2 separate regions of the Homo sapiens genome follow, and region 1 is linked to region 2. Evidence: promoter capture Hi-C in human tissues and cell types (Jung and others, 2019). All regions are on one chromosome and are shown on one strand. The core of a region is centred on a gene start or on the middle of the fragment in contact, and the rest is flanking DNA. Distances in the headings are between cores, read along the strand shown. Region 1 overlaps TSGA10 (testis specific 10). Region 2 holds the start of ZAP70 (zeta chain of T cell receptor associated protein kinase 70).

Region 1 (3,111 bases), core at 446-2,945, 1.4 Mb before region 2:
TTTGAGAAAGATGATGCGAAGTAGGTCTAAAAGTCCAAGACGCCCATCACCAACTGCCCGGGTAGGTTTTATAAACTTACAAATATTTTGGAGTTTGTTGCCCAGACACTGGCTTTTATTCTTTGTTTTACCTAATTTGAAAATAATTTGTTTTGATTTGCTGTGAATTGCTGTTTCAAAGGGGTTGAGAGACAGAGGTCTCTTTGATGGCACAGTAGACTACTGATATTGGTTCTTTATCCTCAGCATAATTAGCACTTGGGAGGTAATCAGGCAAATGTGGAATAATTTGGAATGAAGCTGTTTTAAAAAGATGTGGTTTTTAAACTTATTTTTTATAATTTCCTTTCATTATATAGTCTTATTTTCTTAAATAGAAATTGGGCACTACCATCAGTAGCACCTTTCTATCAGTACTATATATCAAAGAAGATTTCAAATTCCTTATATAATTATAGGGTGCAAACTGTGATGTAGAACTTTTGAAGACAACAACAAGAGATCGTGAAGAACTTAAATGCATGCTGGAAAAATATGAGCGCCATTTGGCAGAAATTCAGGGTAATGTCAAGGTTCTTAAATCTGAGAGAGACAAGATCTTCCTTCTTTATGAACAGGTAAACTTACAAAAAACAAATTATATAAGTAATAACATTGAGTTCTAGAGTTATGTAATTCTTCTTTGAGTTTTATGAGACTGCTTAAACCTGCAAATCAAGTTAATCTAACATTTGGGGATTACATATGTTTTTAAGATATTCTTAATGAAATGTAGTACATTTCCAATACAGTAGGTATGTGAGTACACACGTATGTTATCCCCATAGCCAAAAATCATACACATGTATAAAAATAGTCTTATTTTTGGAATAAGATATGAAGAAACCGTTAAATGATAAGTTGTTATGAGTTCAAGGTAAAAAGATCAAATCCTGACCTTTTTACCTTGAACTTGCCACACCTTATCACATCACTTTAGGAACTTTTATATAATTTGCTTAATTTTAGAGAATAAAAGAAGTATGTAGTTTATCTCTGCTTTCTAGCTTAGAATTGCATAGCTTTTATTAATCAAATACCTTCTTTAACCCAACAAGTATTAAATCCTATAAATCACCCATATAACTTCTTTTAAAAGTATCACAATTTTTTAACAAATTATAGCTACTATACACAGGGTTCTAGGCTCACTACTCTAAGGGATAGAAAAATGATAAGATGCTGACCATGTTTTCCTATAAATTTACAGTCTAGTTAGGGAGATAAAGTATATTGTATTTATTGATTTTTATTAAGTGGTCTAGAAGATATTATAAGAAACAAAAGAAGTGGGCATTTTTAGATATGGTGATCAAGGAAATCTTTATTAAAAGATACAAAGTGTGAGCCCTGAAAAATGAATGGAGTTTCTATTACCCTGAAAGGGGCTAGAAGGAACAATCCAAACTAAAGGAATGGTATGAGGCAAAGGATAAAGGTAGGAAAATCAGCAGATAAATAAATTGGTTTAAGACTAGAATAGAGGGTATGTGTCAGTGGAGAAGGGAGAGAGCTAAGACTTGAAAGGTAAGATTGCACTAGAGCAGGAATCAATATACTTTTTCTGTAAGGCCCAGACAAAAAATATCTTCTGCTTTGCAAGCCATGTGGTCTCTGTTGTAACTAATCAGCCCTATTGTTGTAGGGTGAAAGCAGCTTTGGACAATACATAAATGAATAACTTTGGCTGTATTACAGTAAAACTTTATGGATACTGAAATTTGAATTTCACATCATTTTTACTTGTTTTAAAATACTCTTTTGATATTTTCCCCAACCATTTAAAAATGCAAAAATATTTCTCCACTTACAGACCTACAGGAGGCAGGCTAGATGTGGCCTGTGAGTTATATATAGCTTGCTGACTTCTGGACTAAATGGTACAGGCTGTTCAATGGGCCTTATATGGGGTTTATATTTTGCTTCATAAGCAACAAACAATCTTTTTTTTTTAAAGGCAGGCAAAATATGAACAAAGTATCATTTTTACAATTTTACAATTTTAACCTTATGGCAAATTTTTATTTCTCACATAATCTTTCTATACTGTCTTCTTATTTAACAATTTCTCCTTTGAGAGAATTGATGGAGGGAGAGACCATGGACTCCTCTTTAGAAGGCTGTTACACTAGTGCACATATAAGGCATTAAGGGACTAAGCAAGGGTGTTTCAATGGAGATAAATATAGGGACAGATGCAAAAGACCCTGTGAAGGAAGATTTGACATGATTTGCTTTTAGGAAGAAGGAGGGTTGCATGACAGTGACTAAAATTCTGTCTTGAATGACTCAGCAATGTGGTAATAAAATAAAAAATAGGAGAGTCATTGGTGGTTTGAGGAAAAAGATGTGAGTTTGTTTTTAGACAGAGTAAGATAATGATAGCACACTCAGGTCGTAATTGCCATCAGACTGTAAGAAATGTGGGACTGGAGTAGAGAGAGGCAAGAGTTAAATAGTTAGCTTTGGAAGTCATCTGCTTAGAGGTGAGCTTCGAGCCTTCAGAGTGGATGAAGTCTCTGAATGAGAAAACTGTACATAGAGGAGCAGAAACGTTAAGTTATAATATTCAAGATGCAGAAGGGAACCTTTGAAAGAGACAAAGATGACAGACAGCTAGGGAGGAACAATGTTAAAAGGGAGGAAGGAATCTCAAGAAGAAGGATGTTGTGAGCAGCAACAGACCACTGAAATATCAAGGAGAACAGGAACTGAGAAAAGACCATTATATTTGGTTAGGTCTTTAGTTGAAATTCCACAGAAGGTGGGAGGGTGGGAGCCAGGTTGTTCTGGGGTGATAGAATGGATGGTAAGGAACCATTGGCAATAGTTATAGACCATGGGACTTTTTTTTTTTAATGTGTCGCAGGAAGAAGAGACATAGGATGGTAAATTGGTCAGCAGGATCAAGTGACAGGTTTTCAAGATAAGGGAGCACTGTACATGACTGAAGGCAGGGGAGAAAGTGCCAGTGGAGAGGGTACTATTCAAGATGAGAAGAAATAATTATAATTGAGTCAGGGAGATCTTAGAAGACACTTTAGGAGATGAGGTTTGGGGTTCTGGTGAAGG
Region 2 (3,191 bases), core at 520-3,019:
GGCTGTTCACAGGATTCCTGTCCTGGACATGCTGGATGCCAGTAACACCCGCTGGGTCACAACCCAAACTGTCTCCAGGCACTATCAACTGTCCCAGGGAGACGGGAGGAGGTAAAATTGGCTCTGATGAGAATGGCTGCCTTAACCCTGTACCTTGGGGTGGGGCAGGGAGTGGTCAGCACGGGGTGGTCTGGGTGCTGCAGCCCCGGAGAGCATACAGGAACTGTGGAGTCCAGAGCCCGAGGCCACCCAGAGCTAGTGAGGATAATGAGGGTTTTAGTGAGACCTTTCTGCAGCACCTGTATGTGCCGGGCAGTGTGGATACAGTCACTCTCTTTATCCTCCCGAGAGCCCTGGGAGGGAAGCACAGAGAGATGCGGTGACTGGTCCAGTCACACAGCTGGTGAGTGGCAGAGCCAGAATGTGAAGCCAGGCCCCCAGGCTCCAGAGTGTGCACATCAACACCACCCCCGCAACACTGCCAGGGCAGTGGGGCTGAGGATGGAGGGCAGGTGTGAAGAGGAAAAGGAAGCTCTGGATTCAGCAGGAGGCAGCTTCACAGGTGGCACCTTAGGAGTCCCTGACCCTGATCTCTCAGCAAGGCATTATTAAACACCTCCTGTCTGCCTACTGTTCCAACCAAGACGAGAGTAATGAATCATCTCGAGCTGCTCACCTCATGAACTCCTGTTCCTTCCTGTCGGGGATGCTTCCTACCTGGGACACATTTCCCAGCCTCTCGCCAACAGTCAGGAACCAGGCGCCTGCCAGGTGCCCATATCTGCATGTGCATTTAACAGATGCACAAACTGAGGTCAGAGAGGCCAAGCAACTTGCCGAGAACACACAGCAGTTGAGGAGAACTCGGTGTTTTGCTCTTTCTCTCTCCAGGTCTTCCTCTAACCTGAGCTCGCCTACAAGTGGCTCAAGCCTGCCCTGGACTCCTCACAGGAATCACAGCATTCTGCTGATGGAGCTCACGGCCCTGGTGAGCAGCCCCCTCATCTTCACAGAGTGCACATGCGCTTTCTCTGGAGGTTTCTCTGCCTCCGAGAGCCAAGGATGCAGCCAAACAGGGCCCAGCAGGAGCCCAGGGACTGAGCAGGCCTCACCGTGTCCCCTGAACAGCCCCGCTCGGCCAAGCCTCTGGAGGGGGAGCTGCTTCCCTCAGCGTGGCCACAAGCCCCGTCTGCCTCCATCTCCAGCCAGTCACCACCCAGCCCAGTCCTCCAGCTCTCCTGGTCCTCCCAGCAACCTCCTGACTCCCAGTTAATATTCTGTCTTCCTCCTCCAGACACAGCCCACCATGGAGACGGTGGCCAGGTGCCACTCCACCCAGGCACCACTTACCTGGGGACGTACAGGTGGATGTCCAGGCAAACAGGCCACTTGCGGGGTCTCTGGTCCCAATGCCAATGGAGAGCCGGTTCTGGGTGAGGAATCGGGGCTTACAAAGCCGGTTTGGATTTCCCTGCAGCCCAAGCCCCCAGCCTGAGAGGGAGGCCCTGCCGCTCACACTCTCCGCACACACCCCGGGGGAGGATGTCACACCCCGCCAGGGTTTCTCACTCATGGATGGGGGGGGTTCATCCTCTGCCAGGTCTCCCAGAGCCCCCTGGGGTGGCCCTGGTGGCAGGACACAGGCAGAAGGCCCGAGGACAGCCGCTTACCTGAATGCCCCAGCAGCAGCTCTGAGGCCCACGGTGGGCCAGGCCTGCCCGGAAGGCCTGGTGTCTGCTGAGCTCCGGCAAGCAGGCTTGTCTGAAACTAACCTATTTCCTGGATGCGAAGACAGGAAAGGGGGCTGTGTTTGATGTTTACATCAAAGTCACAAAGTGCTGTGCTCAAGGAAAATCACAGGCCACGTGCTCCAGGGAGGCAGAGGGCATTTCCGGGGCCCAGCACTGCCTGCCCAGCTGCAGGATGGGACTGAGAGATGGGAATGAGGCTAAGCAAAGGCAGGGTTTCAGGAAGGACGACTCCAGCAGCAGGAACCGTCAGAAGGGAGGAAGCCTGCATACCTGGAACCGGAGGGTAGGCAGCAGTGGTGGGAAGGAGGGGAGTCCCAGGGCTCATGGAAACTGGAATGCCCCCATTTTCCCCTCAAAGGGGCGTCGCCCTGGGGCCTGCACCAGCTAGACAACCCAGAGGAGTGATTTGTTTATTCCACAGGCAGGTTAGAGCTGGAGGGAGGAGAAACCCACTGAGTCAGCCCATACCCCGAAGGTGAGAACCCCTTCTGTGCCAGGCATCTGGATGGCAAGGACAGCCTGCCCTTGCTCTCCAGTGGCTCGCAGGCTTGTTGGGGGCAGCTGAGTCCACAGGGAGCCAGGGCTGGGAGGCCGGAAGCCTGGGCACTGTGTGTCCCCAGAGTATCCCCAAGCCAGCCTGGAGGATGTCAGGGATGCGTTCCAGGAGGAGTCAGCCACCCAACCGAGACACAGAGCCAGGGCATCCCCAGTGCTAGCCCGGCCCACCTGGGACCTTTCCCACGAAGCTGAACCTGGCTGAGTGCCATCCCGCTGTGGCCACCACCTCCTCCTCCTCTTCCTCTCCTCCCTTCCCTCACCCTGTGCACCCCCTACCCTTGGGCCTGGGGCCACACCTCATGCACTCTCTCAGAGAGGGGCCTGCAGAGCCACTCCCTCGGCTCCATCTCCCCTCTAGTGCCCCAAGGCCTCTGGGAGCCCCTTGCCCACCACCTCCTTGCTTTCTTGGGCACTAAGGGAGTCGTCACAGCTCTCCTGTCTGTGGGGCCTCAGAGACCTGTGTGGAACTGCCCTGGGCCCACTGTGGAGACTCCTAAAGCTTTTCTTCTTGGGGTCCTGCTGCCCTTGTTAAGTGGGCTTGTGATACCCTACCTTGTTTTAACCTGAATTGACTCTCCCTTAGCTAAGAGAGCCAGACAGACTCCATCTTGGCTCTTTCATTTGCAGCCCCTTACCCACCCCGCTTCCTCAAGGACTTAATTTGTGCAAGCTGACTCCCAGCACATCCAAGAATGCAATTAACTGATAAGATACTGTGGCAAGCTATATCCGCAGTTCCCAGGAATTCGCCCGGTTAATAGCACCCAGAGCCCCGGCGTTTGTGTCCGGTTGATAACGCCCAAAGCCCCGTGTCTATCACCTTGTGATAGATTTTAAGCCCCTGCACCTGGAACTGTTTGCTTTCCCGTAACCATTTATCCT

Evidence for each region. Contacts are between HindIII fragments. The study calls those that stand out against the background at their distance.
Region 1: a contact is called between a fragment that was not itself captured here and the fragment with the promoter of ZAP70 in region 2, in 1 of the 25 tissues and cell types used here (dorsolateral prefrontal cortex).

The regions. Positions count from the first base shown.
Region 1 is chr2:99,106,339-99,109,449 of GRCh38, reverse strand. TSGA10 (testis specific 10) reads left to right here. Exons shown (of 21, transcript NM_025244.4): 6 at 1-61; 7 at 459-617. The coding sequence starts at 11. Among named protein-coding and RNA genes, the nearest start is that of C2orf15, 34 kb to the left of the region's middle. The HindIII fragment of the contact is 7,771 bases long and covers 1-3,111 here.
Region 2 is chr2:97,712,154-97,715,344 of GRCh38, reverse strand. It overlaps ZAP70 (zeta chain of T cell receptor associated protein kinase 70), which reads right to left and starts at 1,769. Exons shown (of 14, transcript NM_001079.4): 1 at 1,671-1,769; 2 at 1,351-1,429. RefSeq lists an enhancer at 988-1,961. The HindIII fragment of the contact is 22,881 bases long and covers 1-3,191 here.